Linked DNA regions of Homo sapiens: region 1 is linked to region 2. The links are contacts of gene promoters, found by promoter capture Hi-C in blood cells and fetal thymus (Javierre and others, 2016). All regions are on one chromosome and are shown on one strand. Each heading gives the region's core, a stretch centred on a gene start or on the middle of the fragment in contact. The rest is flanking DNA. Distances are from core to core; before and after follow the strand shown. Region 1 holds the start of JAML (junction adhesion molecule like). Region 2 holds the start of SORL1 (sortilin related receptor 1).

Region 1 (6,856 bases), core at 1,093-3,592, 3.2 Mb before region 2:
AAAATAAAGACAGTGTAAGTAAAGAATGTGTTTTGGTGGGAGGTTATAAGAAGGCGTGTGAATATGGTTTCTGTTAAAGAGAACGTAATTTTGTCTAGCTCAGAGGGTTTTAACTATTGGCCTCACCTAAAAGAGTAATGGGACAGCTGGGCATGGTGGCTCACGCCTGTCATCCCAGAACTTTGGGAGGCTGAGGTGGGGAGATCACTTGAGGTTAGGAGTTCCAGACCAGCCTGGCCAACATGGCAAAACCCCGTCTCTACTAAAAATACAAAAATTAATCAGGTGTGGTGGTGAGCGCCTGTAATCCCAGCTACTTGGGAGGCTGAGGCAGGAGAATCACTTGAACTCGGGAGGCGGAGGTTGCAGAGAGTCGAGATTGTGCCACTGCATGCCAGCCTAGGTGACAGAGTGAGACTCTGTCTCAAAAAAAAAAAAAAAAAAAAAGAGTAATGTGACAAAACTGATGGTTTAAGCAAGTTGAAAAGGGTTTGTGAAGGGTTAATCTCATGAAAAGTTCTGTGGGTATAAGCAGGTTGGCTAAGATTTAAAGGGGATTACTTAGTTTTTCCATAGGTCGAACACTGAAATAAAAGCACACTGATGTAGGGCCAGAATCCGGGCCCATGTGTCTGAATAATGGTTTTCTAGAGAATTTATTTGTTTAACAGAAAATTGTAAAGAATTATGAGAGGTTTGTGGACGTTTTACCTTATGGTCAAACTATGATTGTATAGATTTGTTTATAAGGTTTTATTAAGAATTGGATCTAACATTAATAATATACTAATGCAAAGGTGAAATTTTGCTTTCTCTCATAAACAAGATTTTTGCATAATATTTTAAAATAATGAGATTTTTGTTTACCTTTTAATAAACAACAGAAAAAGGAGGAGAGAGGAAATAGATTCGGTTGGCATCATGCTGTCTTTATTGCGACCTGCTTGGAAAGTTGACTCTCCCCTCTATCAGCAAGTAAAGATTTTTGCCTTTTAGAAATTTTGGAGTTATCATTTTGGCTACCTAAATGACTTGTAGTGACTCTATACTAATCTTCTCTGAGCAACTCTCCTCCATATCCTGTTGGGTAATGAGAACAAGTGGCACCCCCTCCCTCCAAAAAATCCATACCCCTTTATATTACAGAAAAGAAATCTTCAGAAAAGAGACATGCTACAATGAGACTACCATACAAGATGTGAAAGTTACCCCCCAAATTACAATATCATGAGACAAAATAAGGGAGAGCTGCTGTCTCTCAGTGTTTGTCCCTAGTAAGGACAACTAACCACTGAGCAAACGGACAACTGCACAGCCTTCTTTTACTCACAGAGTGTTGTCCACCTGCAGAGCCAAGTCCTCTCAATCTATCTGCACACTGCTGTGCACTTCTAGGCTCTCAGATGTTTTTAGGTCTACAAGTCCATATAACCACTCTAAGCCATGCGTCTTAAAATATGCCCTCATTTTCCATTGTTAAGCCATTGAATACAGACTGGTAGGTCACGTGGCTTCTGTAACACAGTCTAGGTCACATCGGTTAATGCTCTACGCGAATGGGACCCTGGAGGTCCTTACTCCTGCTCTCTTCTCCAGAGTAGGTTATACCTAAACCATCCTGCATCAGCCTTTCCCAAGGTCAGGGCTGTGCTGAGGGTGTAACAAGCATGGACAGTAGCCTAGCTTTCTTGGGAGATTTAAGTCTCGGGCTTCTAAAGGTTAAATATTGGTTTGTCTATAATGGGGAGAAGAAAAACAGTGGTATAACTATGTAAAATGATGGATATATTAATCTGCTTCACCATAGTAAACTTTTTACTATCTACATGCATCCCACAACATCATGTTGTATACCTTAAATACACACAATAAAATTTGTTTAAAAATAAAATTAAAAACTGTCTTCTAAAAAGAAAAACAGTGAAGAAAGAGCTCTGCTGTGAGCTCAAGAACAGCCAGTCACAGCTCCACCTAAACCCACGGGTGACTTAAAAGCTGAAGCCTTGTCATAATCATTGTCACGTACTCTTATTATGATGAAACTTTGCTCCTCTTTTTGCTGAGGAGATTCACCTAAGTTACTCTACACGACAGTAACTGAAACAGCACCCATTAGACTACTTTATGACATCCCCCTGCAGAGATCAAGAGTTCTGCAATCGCAGCTTCACAATCCTGAGAGACTACCAATTCAACCAGCCTTCAGGACTGGCACACTTCTGTGTGAGAAAAGTTCAAAAAATGGCTTAAGAAATTCAAAGCAACTGCTTACCCAAGATGAAGAGCACCCAGGGGAGGCAATGCACTGAAATCTCCCCACAGCTGCAGTCCCCAAGCTCAACTGAAAGACTGCTGCGAGCACTCTAGGTTAGGCTCAGAGCAAACCAAACACGTGCCTTCTGAAGTGGTTGCAGAGATGCAAACAGGAACCTCTAAATCAAGGTTCTCATTTCAGTCATCTGGCCCATTACCCAATTGTTATGTATACTTTCATTCTAAAAAGAGGTGACAAATTCAACCTACTGAGGTGAACCTCACACTCAGACCTCTTCAGGTGCCATCTCCCCTTTTAGATGACAAGCCCTCTGAGGGTAGGAGCTTGAATGGCACCAGGCAAATAGGTGCTGAGAAAGAAATCCATTTCATGCAAACAAAATACAATAAACGTAATATTAACACAAAACCTTCTGTGTTAAAGATACAGCAACCTCTTTTATTTTTCCTCTCAAAACAGAGGTGCAACCTCGCCAGGCAATCACCCAATCCCTGCTTCCAAAGATACGCCTGCCCAGTCCTCCAACTCACCATGTAGACATGAAAGTTTCCTCTGGCCATGTGATATCAGCATTTCCAGAATACAGGCAGCCATTGATTCCCATAGAGAACCTCTTGGGTGACTTGGACATCCTAGATTAGAACTCAAGGTTTCTTCACTTCAAGATACCTCTCAGTCTTAGTCACCACTTCAAAATAGGTGTTCTCAATGTACGCACCTTCAACCTCGGCTAGATTGGCTTGACCTAGGCATGGGCAGACTCATGGAACTTGTCCTGTATCATCTGAAAAGCTGTTGAACGTTTGCTCCCAAGCACTACGCTGCATGGTCCTTGAGAAGTGATGTGCTAGAGAGCCAGCAATCTCCACAGCATAAATATTCCCATCATAACCTATTTCAAGCTACCAACAGTTTAACAACTGGCTTGCAAAATTCCTAAAAAACTTAATACAGGTTGAGTATCCCTTATCCAATATGCTTGGGACCAGAAATGTTTCAGATTTCATATTTTTTTCAGATTTTAGAATATTTGCCGAATACATACAAGTTGAACGTCCCTAGTCTGAAAATCCAAAATGCTCCAATAAGCATTTCTTTGGAGCATCATGTTGGCACTCAAAGTTACAGATTTTGGAGTTGAAATAGCAACCACTCTTTTGTATTTTCAGATTAGGGGTACTCAGCCTGTAATCAGCTCTTGCTATGTAAGCTGGTTCCAGCACACCACGGAACCTCTGCAGGTTCTTGCGGGGGTACAGCTCCGACATGACTGGTTGCACGATGCTGAAAACCACTGTTAAATCAAGTTTAGCCTAAAGCTGCCTCCTTACATATTTTAAGTTTGGCCTAAAGGTTTCTCTGTACATCATGAACTATAACGTAAATGGAATAGTATACGGACTCTAGTCTACTCTTGTGCCAGTCACTGAGTTTGGCCAATCGAAGATGGCCAATGATTCAAACTATTCAAATAAGGCAAACACCGAGCTGTAACCAATCCGGCTATTTCTGTACCTCACTTCTGTTTCCTGTACATGACTTTCCTTTTGCTGTCCATAAATCTTCCACCACGTGGCTGCGCTGGAGTCTCTGAGTCCACTCTGGCTCAGGAGACTGCCTGATTCATGAATCATTCTGTGCTCAATTAAACTCTTTTAAATTTAATTCAGCTTTTAATACCACAAACCCCCATCTTTTTCACATGACAATTCCCACCTTTTATGTAGATATGCACACACCAAAAGGTAGCCAAAGGGTACAAAGAAGTTTATTGACTATGATGCAGTAAAGATACCAAGAGTTACAATATTTGTGCATATGGCCCAACAGTGCCTACCCTCCTACAAAACAAAAACAAAAACAAAAAAAGGCAATGAGGTGCAGCAGTTAACAGCCCAACACTGGAGTCAAAGGAATGGAGCTGCCTCTTCTGGCAGCAAAGTTTCAAGTTGTGCAATTAAATAATAGTCTTGGTCCACTCCTTGTGGGTCTTCTTACAGTTTCCCTTTAGAACCATAACTGAGTGACTTAGTAGAACATTCATATTCAGGATGTGGCCTCCAGAAGTGTCGTTTTGTTTTGTTTTGAACAAAGACGTGCTACCTTCTCTCTTGAAGCACCAGTGCTGGGTTCAGGAGCTACAGAGGACTAAGATGTTCCCCAAGTAGCCTGAAGTAACAGGTCACATGGAAAACACAAAGCAATTGGTGAGTCCACATTTTGTAATAGAATTAAGAGCGTAATGCATAAAACTTAAAGTCATGTAACCACATGTAAAAACTTCAGCAGCTAAAGAAAAATTCTGGAAGGCTTTTAACCCCTTCTGAACTAAGTTCCCTTTCTAAACGAGGCTGGTTTCCATGGCTGTGACAAGAGCTCATGAGGTAGCAAAAAGAGAGAGAGAATAGCACCTTAGAAGTTACTCAAACAAGAGGTGAAACAAATAAGTAAACAAAAAAAGACCACTTTATCTTCCTTTCATCCTTAAAGAAGGCAGGTGTCTGTACACTGCTTTGTGATCCTTCGAAGAATAAAAAGCTGTAACCCAAATCTCAGTATAAGGGATGAAGAAGGAAAATGATAGCAGCTGATGACTGGGATGCGACCACAAACCCATATAGTAAACTAAGTTATCAACGTACTCCCTTACCACGAAGGACTTCATTCAGTCATTTAAAAAGCAAGGGACTAGTTCAAATCATGATTAAGGCTATAAAAGAACACGACTGAGTATTCACAGAGCACCAATTACCTCAAGTTTAGACTAGGTGTCAATCTACAAACATACTACCCTGCATTAATCTTCACAACACACCTGCGAGGACATTACAAGAAGGCCCAGCCAAAATTAGTTCCTCATTTAATGGGATATGGCTTTCAGTGGGTTCCTGTAACACCATCTCTTTCTTGGAGAAATGAGGACCTGCAAAATAGTCCCCCTCACAATGAGATCTCTATCTTCAAATCTCTGAGAGCCCAAGTTATTTACTCTCATTGCTCAAGTTGCTTTCCTCTCTCTGTTGAGGTGTCAGAAATGGTCACGTTAGATTGGCCTCAGACAACCACAAAAGTTAACAAGCAGTCCCAAAGTACCGTGAGGTTTAACCACTGGAAATGTAAACTGCCGGTCCTGTCTTTGCCCTTCTACTTCCTCGCGTGACCAGAGTCAAATCACAATGTCCTTCAACTAACCAGATTCGCTCATCTGTGGACTAGGTTAACAGAAGAGGCTAGGCCAAATCTATGATACGGATCTAACAACCCAAATTTTTTAAATTAAGTCTTCAAAAAAAAAAGAAAGAAGTTGAGAGAGAGAAAAGTGATTTTTAAACTAACATATACAGTCTGAAGCGCTGTAATATGGAAACTTCCTGAACCACCTAATGAAAAATCATGAAAAGGGATCAACCTGTTGAAAGAATAGAGACAGGTGAGGGGATAATTTTTGTCTCTCATAATTGAGAAGTAAATCCAATCACTATTACAGAAGACTATTTATATATGCACCATCCATCTTTACTGATATACTATACATATGCCTTAATGGCTTATAAAAAATCCTATGTAAATTAACATTTGAAACAAGTTGTCATAGCAGAATGGAGTAACCTGCTGTAAGGCACTGAGAGAATACAAAGGAGAAGTATGTCATGCACAATCTCACTTCCTCATCTCAAATATTATGTAAAAACCACTTGCAAATACCATAGTTTACTCACAGTTGGCACATTTTAGAAATCAACAAAGTTTTGAAAAACAATACAAGTGAAAAGATGATTTAATTTGCAAAGAACTCCTGAAATACTCCATAAGCCCCCCACTAAAAACCTGTAAAGAGTTTTTCTTGCCTCTGACCTGAAAATTCAAGAAGAAAAGTTGTAGTTATAAGAAAATAAAATAACAGGCCAAGCACAGTGGCTCATGCCTGTAATCCCAACACTTTGGGAGGCCGAGGCAGGTGGATCACGAGGTCAGGGGATTGAGACCATCCTGGCCAAAATGGTGAAACCCCGTCTCTACTAAAAACACAAAAATTAGCTGGGTGTGGTGGCGCATGCCTGTAATCCCAGCTACTCGAGAGGCTGAGGCACAAGAATCGCTTGAACCCAGGAGGCAGAGGTTGCAGTGAGCCAAGATCACACCACTGCACTCCAGCCTGGCGACAGAGTGAGACTCTGCCTCAAAAAAAAAAAAAAAAAAAAAAAAGCAAGACAGAAAATAACAAAGACTCCTTAGCCCAAATTGTACCAGCAAGACTAAAGAAAATAATTTTTCTACTTCACGATTCCTTTCCTTAACTGTAAATTGATGACACTGTACTTAATACTTTAAAAACCCAGTCAAAGCAAACCAATGACTTGATCCTACCAACTCTAAGGAAACTAAGGGTATACACCCTAAGTTATCCAAACACAACTGAGGTTGAGGTCATTAAACCGGTAAGTATACGCCCTATACTAACTCACAGCTGAAAGTGTACATGGAGCAAAAAACAAAGAATACATATCCCAAGCGAATATTTTGTCTGGTGACACATCAGGAAGCCACAAGCTCCACTTCATTTAAAAAATTATTTGGGTA
Region 2 (7,536 bases), core at 4,552-7,051:
AGCTGAGGTGGGCAGATCACCTGAGGACGGGAGTTCGAGACCAGCCTGGGCAACATGGTGAAACCCCGTCTCTACTAAAAATACAAAAATTAGCCAGGTGTGATGACACATGCCTATAATCCCAGCTACTCGGGAGGCTGAGGCAGGAGAATCATTTGAACTCAGGGGGTGGAGGTTGCAGTGAGCTGAGATTGCACTACTGCACTCCAGCCTGGGTGACAGAAACTCTGTCTTAAGAGAAGAAAAAAAAAAAAAAAAGGAAAGTATCCAGGAGACGTGGGCCAAAAAGCTAGTCTGACTGTCTGCTTTCCCTGTCTTGCTGGCCCTAAGAGAGTGCAGAGGCATCTGCTGAAACAAAGCATCACATTTCAACTGTGCTGTGTCCAAGCTGATTGGTCACATCCCCAGGCTCGTCTGTGCCTAACGCATGCATCCCCAGTGAATGTACAGCAAAGGCCTCAAGGGAAGAAGATACAAGCCTTGATATGTAATTACACGGGGATATTCAAATAATCTTCAGCTTAAGTTCCTCTCATTCACTTCAAACCCAGGAGGGGGAGTCCTACTCCTCTATATTCCCAGGGAAAGAGGTAATTTCCTAGGGACCCTCAGCAACCCATTGTCTTATGTCAGGAGGTTTGTCCTTGGGTCTACATAATTATAAGAAACTTCTAGGTTCCCGCTTCACACACTTTGTGAGAAAGGTCTAAATGCTTTCTTGATCTAGAAGTTCAGGAAGTTGAGTTACGCAGGGATGAAGGCCAGACAAGGGTAAACAGTGGAACCAAAACTTGAGGGCTTTTTTTTTTTTTTTTTTTGAGACAGGGTCTCTCTCTGTCACCCAGGCTGGAGTGCAGTGGTGCGATCTCAGCTCACTGCAGCCCTGACCTCCTGGGCTCAAGCGATCCTCCCCACTCAGCCTCCTAAGTAGCTGGGACTACTGGCATGTGCTACCATGCCTGGCTCATTTTTGTATTTTTTGTAGAGGTGGGGTTTCGACACATTGCCCAGGCTGGTCTTGAACTCCTGGGTTCAAACGATCCTCCCGCCTTGGCCTCTGTAAGTGCTGGGATTAAGGGCATAAGTCACTGTGCCTGTCTGAGGGACCTTCTAAAACTTGCGCTCTCTCACAGGTTTTGAAACACATTGGAAACCAAATCCCTCGCTAAATTCATCTCCTAGAAAAGTATAGAAAACAGGACTGGACTTGTGAGCTTTGTAACTGTAACATTACTGCTAACTTGTCCCAATCAGGGCGTGAGGGTCAAGCAGATACAGCATCTCACCTAGGCTAGGTACCTAGGAAGGGAGACAGTGCTGGTTAAGGCAGGGCTGAGTTGTGAAGGAGGTGAGGCCTACAGCCACTCCCTTTCCTTCTTTCTGCCCTAATTCCCGCTGTTCCACTATACCCAGGACTTGAAATACCAGCTCTTCTCTTCCTAAGAGAGGTATCAGATGTGGCAGAAAAAGGGAGCCTGGGTTCAAATTTATCCCTTACTAACAGTAAGTTAGCAAGCCTGTTTAACTTTAGGCAAAGCAAATAGTCTTCCTTTCTGAATTTCAATGCTTAAGGTCTGTAAAATGGGGGTGACAATAATTCTCGCTTTGGCCCACTTCAAAGGGTTGCTGTGCGATGGAATGAGATAGATAATGCTGTTATAATGTTATGCAAATGTAAATCACTGCTATGCAAAATAACTTACTGCTATTTCCAGAAACTCCTCTTTGGATTTAATTTAATCAAGAGTGAGAATATAAGTTACTTATTCTATGCTCTGGGTGCATTTGTATTTTAAACCTCATCAATTATCTTGGACGCTTTCCTAACTGAAGTAGATTTTGGCAACAGCAGGAGAAGGAGTTATTTCTTTGGGGGCAGGCGGGTATTTCTATTTTGCCTGAGCTGGTGAGGTCAATGGTAGTTATTTGGCCAAAGTAACATGGAAGAGGGAACAATGTTTACCATCCTAAGGGCAGGGAAGTCCCTTTTCTGCTTTAATGACTCTGGTCTGGTTGCGTGACTCAGAGAGGCCTGCTTTGGGGGAGAAAACGAGGTGGGAAGCAGATGGTGGTAAGAAAAGATCTGAGATTCAACTACATTGGCCCCTTAACCAACCATTGCCACCAGGACAAAGGTGGTGTCACTTCTCACCTTCATTTAAATGCATGCATCCTATAAATATCATTGAGTGCCACCATGTGCCAAGAGTATGCTGGGCACTGGGCGTCTAGACTTGAATGAGATAGACTGGTTTTGTCATTCTGCTGCTTGTAGATTAAGAGGAAGATGGAGATTAAGCAAGTGACCAGAGAGGAAGTATCAAAGGCTACAGGGGACTAGAGCCTTAGAGTGAGGGCTGTAACCTAGCCTAGGTGCCTAAGGAGGCTGCTCTGAAACCTGAAGGCTGAATAGAAGTTGGCCAGCCAGGAGGTGAGCATGTGAGAAGGCCACAGGAAGAGAAAGAACAGAAAGAAGTCAAATTAGGCTTTGGGGAGTTTTTTCCTCTTCGTGGCTGTCCTTGCTGCTATTTTAAACATGACTCCACCTGGATAAAAATGTAGGACACTGTGACCTCTGTGTGTTTGTCCTCTACCTCCATCTCCAGTGGCCTAAGATGGGCAGTAGGACAGAGGAGGGCAGTTTAAAGTCTGACAACAGGCTTAAGACTGTTTTATACACAGCTGTGAGTCTATCATTACATTTCCGTGCATGTTGATTTTCGTCATGATGCTGGGCAGCATCCGAGCAAGGCCATGCAAGATGGGACAGAGGGGGATATGGTACTGTCTTCCATCCTGCACCCCAACTTTGATGTTACTTCAGAGGGATAGAGGAAGTGGTAGCTTGTTTACAACCCAGAGCTGGTTTTGAAGCTGAGAGGAACACCTCACTCATATTGCACGATTCAGCTCTAACTCCTGTCCTGGGTGACCTTGCCTGTGGCTGCTCCTATCTCACAACCCAGTGGGGGTCCTGAAGGTTTGGGAGTGGTCAGGGCTGAAAGGTGTCTTTTCATTTAACTTATGAAGAAATCGTAAGAGACAAGATGATCAAGACAAAAAATTACATAATAATTTGGTTGCAAAGCCAGGACTAGAATCTATGTTTCTAATGCCACCTGCATGCACTATTTCTCTCTGGAGGCCTTCACACAAATTTGCACAGCTATTTTATATACTTACCTCATCTGATACTCTCAGCAGTCCTGTGAGATTGGTAGGGATTAAGATCTCTATTTTACAGATGAGAAAACTGAAGCTCTGAGGAGGTTTGGCCAAGTCCCCACAGCTAGAAAGTCAACCTTCTGACTCAGAATTCAGCGTGTCTTCCACTGCGTTCTGTAGTTGTGCAGCAGGCACAGTCTTGGGGGGTTGCTGATTATCTACCTGAGAATGGTTTGGAATGTAGATAATGATTAGATAGGAGGGCTTGCAAGGAGTTAATTAACCATGTTTGAATATTCTTACCAATTCTCTAGCATTCAAGTTGCAAATCAACATCAAAATGAGCAAGTAGCTGGCCCTGCCCTACTAGTCCTTCTGTGCAAGGGGCCATCTGAACCTTAAGCCAGCAGTTTGTGTGGGCAAACAGATGCCCATCTTCAAATCCACACTTAGGAGACTCCTGTCTCTGTTTTCTGCTGGGACTCTGACACTTGCTCTTGCAGAGAAGGTTCTCATTAAATATATGTTGGAAAAACCCCAATAATTGAATCATCTACAGGATGTTCTCACTTTAGCCATATTCCCTTCATTTTCCTTTGAGGGCTAAATGGGAGTAGAGATATCTTTGCTGCTGGTCCTGAGAGACCATGGGGTTGTCCATTCCTGGTAAGGTGATGCTGACCAGACAGAGCTGATCTAGATGAGGGGTGGGAGGTGACAGTGGTTCAGTGGCTTTCTTGGAGGATGCATGATTGTTTGAATTATTATTTTTAATTGACATATATAAGTATATAATAAATATATATGTTATATATATGAGTTAGAGCTGAATTGCACAATATGAGCAAGGCGTTCCTCTCAGCTTCAAAACCAGCTCTGGGTTGTAAACAAGCTACCACTTCCTCAATCCCTCTGAAATAACATCAAAGTTGGGGTGCAGGATGAAGGCACCCCAATAATACCACACTGGGGAAAGTGTGGTATTTTGATACCTGTATACAATGTATAATGAACAAAGCAGGGTGGTTAACATAGAGAATGCATGATTTGCTTGGTGGGGAGAACTGGATGGTTCTGTAATTATGTTGAGATGGACAGAAAGACATCATCTGACTTGGGGAGAAAATCGGGTGTGGGAGGAGGTGGGAGAGTGCAGAACCTGAGGCAGAGGTCCCCAGCAAGTCTGGCATGGGGTAGGGTAGGGTGGTTGAATACTGGCTTCAGGGAGATGAGGCAAGCTGGCCTGACTCTGGCAGGTTGTCAGTGGTAGTCCTAGGTAGAGGAGGGGGCTTTGCTAAGCTACCTGAAAAGTACTAGAGTGGGCCGGGGTAGGAATCGGGCTACCGTGGCTTGTCGGAGATGAGGAATGTTTTTAGAAAATTGAACTGACCATCCCTTCCTTCCCCTGAACAGCAGCTTGTATGCAACTATAAAGGTAGTCTCCCTTTCAGCCCTGCTTGCTGTGTCTTTATTCTTATCAAAAACCAGGATCTGAGTTCAGAGGGCAGTGAAACATAAAATGAAATAGGAAAGGTTGCAGTAGTACATAGACTTTGGCTGCTCCCACTAACCTGCAAAAAAAATATTTTCCTTGGGCGTACCTTAGCAGTTCCATGGCAGAAGTTTTATCTCCTGTGGTTCAGAGAGTTTGGCTCGTCAAGCTGAATGTAGGGTTAAAGTGTGTCCTCCCTCCTCTGTGGGTGTTTGCCTAGCTCCTGGCTGTGGGTTGAAGGGACTGGTAAATATGTCTATTTTACTGCTGAGGCAGGGTGGCTCAGTGCTTGGTCACCTTGGAGGGATCATAAGCAAGCCGCCGCTGGGGCCCTGTGCCACGCACAGGTATTCATGCGTGCGTGCAAGCACACCCTGTATAGCTGTGTAATAATTGTCCAGGTGTGGTGCATTCTTTGTCAGATGTACCCTTGTTTTTACTGCCTCTGTGCAGGATGTTTATTTGCTGTGCTTCAGGCTGGGGCACGTAGCTTGATCAAGGGTAGTTTTTGCTGTGGCCCCTGCAAATACGTTGTGGTGCCCAGAGTAGATGAAAAACTGTGAGTTTCCCAATAGAGCGGGTTCATCTGGACTCTTGTTGGTTGCGTTCTAGGAGCTAATTCTGTGGCTCTGGACTCTTCCCTGGAGGTGGGGATGAGGCCGGGGCCGGGGGGAGGTGGTCTTGTGGCGCTACTGCGGGCTGTGCACTCAGGAAAGTGGCCACGGTTTAGGACGACCTCGACACGACCCTGTATAGGACGCAACTAACTCCAGAGAAAACGAGCGAGCCCCATGCAACTCTTCATTCCTGCAGGGAGAACAAGGAGGTGTGCCCGCCAGGGAAGGGACGCACCCCCACCGGCGCTCGCTGCCTTAACTTCCCCATCCCCGCGCCAGGGAGGGGCCGGAGTCGCCGCCGAGGCCGCCGAGCGCAGAAAGTGCGCGAAAGGGACGCGCTGCGAGCCTCACACGTGACGGCGCCGCGCCGAACCGAGCGGGACCTGGCGGCAGCGGCGGCGGGCGCAGCGGGGCGGCCCGGAGCGGCGCGGGCGGCCTGGAGCCCCGGGAGCGGCGCGCGCGGTCCCGGCCCAGCGGCTCTCCTGGCCTCGCGCTGCACATTCTCTCCTGGCGGCGGCGCCACCTGCAGTAGCGTTCGCCCGAACATGGCGACACGGAGCAGCAGGAGGGAGTCGCGACTCCCGTTCCTATTCACCCTGGTCGCACTGCTGCCGCCCGGAGCTCTCTGCGAAGTCTGGACGCAGAGGCTGCACGGCGGCAGCGCGCCCTTGCCCCAGGACCGGGGCTTCCTCGTGGTGCAGGGCGACCCGCGCGAGCTGCGGCTGTGGGCGCGCGGGGATGCCAGGGGGGCGAGCCGCGCGGACGAGAAGCCGCTCCGGAGGAAACGGAGCGCTGCCCTGCAGCCCGAGCCCATCAAGGTGTACGGACAGGTGAGCAGTTTTGCAACCCGCCTCCCTCCAGTTTTTTCCTCTCCCTGCACTTCCTCACCCCCGCATCCATCCGTTGCAGTCGCCTCCTAGGTGCAGGCACCACTGGGGACTTCCCGGCTTGCATTTGTTTTTTTCCTTCACGAGTACAACCGTCAGCACTTGAATCGCATTGATCTTTCCTTCTTCCTGTCGATTTAGTAAACGTATTCCAGGTAACTCGCCGGGTGCAGTGCGTATTACCCCAGGGTGTGTGCAGAGAGATGTAGTTTCCGGCAGGTATAGGAGGGGTGCAGCTTCATTTTACATCTGGATAAAAAACGGGCTTTCTTTAGTGTATCATCAGTTGGCAGTGGAGGCGAGCACCCTGCAGTTGCGGTACACTTACACAGAACAGCACGAGGTGGGGGTTTCCACACTTAGCATTATTAGCACAATAAAAGTGGGCAAACCTGAAAGCTTGTCGACTATCTCTGTACAGTCAGACAAGAGGTGTGTGTATGTGTGTGCGTGTGTAAAGGCTGAATTTTTAATTTTTAATTTTTGGCGAGCGTGTGAGATGCTCTCCATTCCTTCTTCCCCACCCTTCAAGATGCTGACTCTCCCACCCCCGTCAAGATAACTTTATTTTGGAGAGGAATACCCCTCATGGCACTTGGAGATTTGAAAGGACTGCAGGAAATTTGGTGGGCATTATTATTCTATAAGTGATTTATTTCTACCCAGGCAATAGGTTTATTAGATCATAAGTAACGTGAATTTCACTTTTATGGTCAGACTTACTGCGAGGAATTGCAGATGGAGTTTGTAGGTTAGGATCAGCACTGGCAAAATTAATTTGACCGTGTTATTGCCTCATGAGACTCCCAGTCCTGCAGTTAAGATTGACATCAGCAAAAGTATAAGGTCGGTGGGGGAGAAAAAGTAGGACCAGAGGAGGGGGTAAATACACTTGTTTTCTAGAGTCAAATTGTTCCTTTTGAAGTAGAAATTATTAATAAAAGATTACCCTGAGTTCTGCCTTTTCTCACTAATTTCACTTTAGCCATTTCTTCAGGAAATACAGAGTTAAATGTTCAACCCTTGGATCCAGGACGAACCTTGTAAACATATCACCCTATTGTGTCATTTTGTTGGTGAAGAAACTGAAGCGTGGAATGGTGAAGTGACTAGTCCAAGGTCATACCGGGAAGGTGGCCTGCTCTCTAGTTTTTGTCTGCATTGTCTCAGTGACCTTTGCTTGACTGCAGTCACCCTGTCTTTATGCAATGCTGCTGAAATACCTCCTTTCTAAAATAAAATAGATCTGGTATAAAGGGGGAAAGGATGGTGGTGACTGGGTGGGAGCGTTGGATTTCCCTCCACTATTGGTCCCTGGGCAAGAATGTGTGCCCCAGGGCATGTAACTAATGGTGGCCACAGGCTGCAGGAACCT

What was found. Contacts are between HindIII fragments. The CHiCAGO score rates a contact against its expected background, and 5 or more counts as called.
Region 1: the fragment with the promoter of JAML here is called in contact with the fragment with the promoter of SORL1 in region 2 in 1 of 17 cell types (neutrophils); the score reaches 5.1 in neutrophils.

The regions. Positions count from the first base shown.
Region 1 is chr11:118,222,669-118,229,524 of GRCh38, forward strand. JAML (junction adhesion molecule like) reads right to left here and starts at 2,343. Exons shown (of 10, transcript NM_001098526.2): 1 at 2,273-2,343. It overlaps MPZL3 (myelin protein zero like 3), which reads right to left. Exons shown (of 6, transcript NM_198275.3): 6 at 4,022-6,856. The HindIII fragment of the contact is 17,664 bases long and covers 1-6,856 here.
Region 2 is chr11:121,446,513-121,454,048 of GRCh38, forward strand. SORL1 (sortilin related receptor 1) reads left to right here and starts at 5,802. Exons shown (of 48, transcript NM_003105.6): 1 at 5,802-6,104. The coding sequence starts at 5,820. It overlaps SORL1-AS1 (SORL1 antisense RNA 1), which reads right to left and starts at 6,455. Exons shown (of 3, transcript NR_183636.1): 1 at 6,163-6,455; 2 at 3,184-3,387. RefSeq lists enhancers at 4,759-4,818, 6,209-6,398, 6,409-6,458, 6,499-6,568, 6,589-6,638 and 2 more and silencers at 5,689-5,738, 5,869-5,918. The HindIII fragment of the contact is 8,160 bases long and covers 1-6,558 here.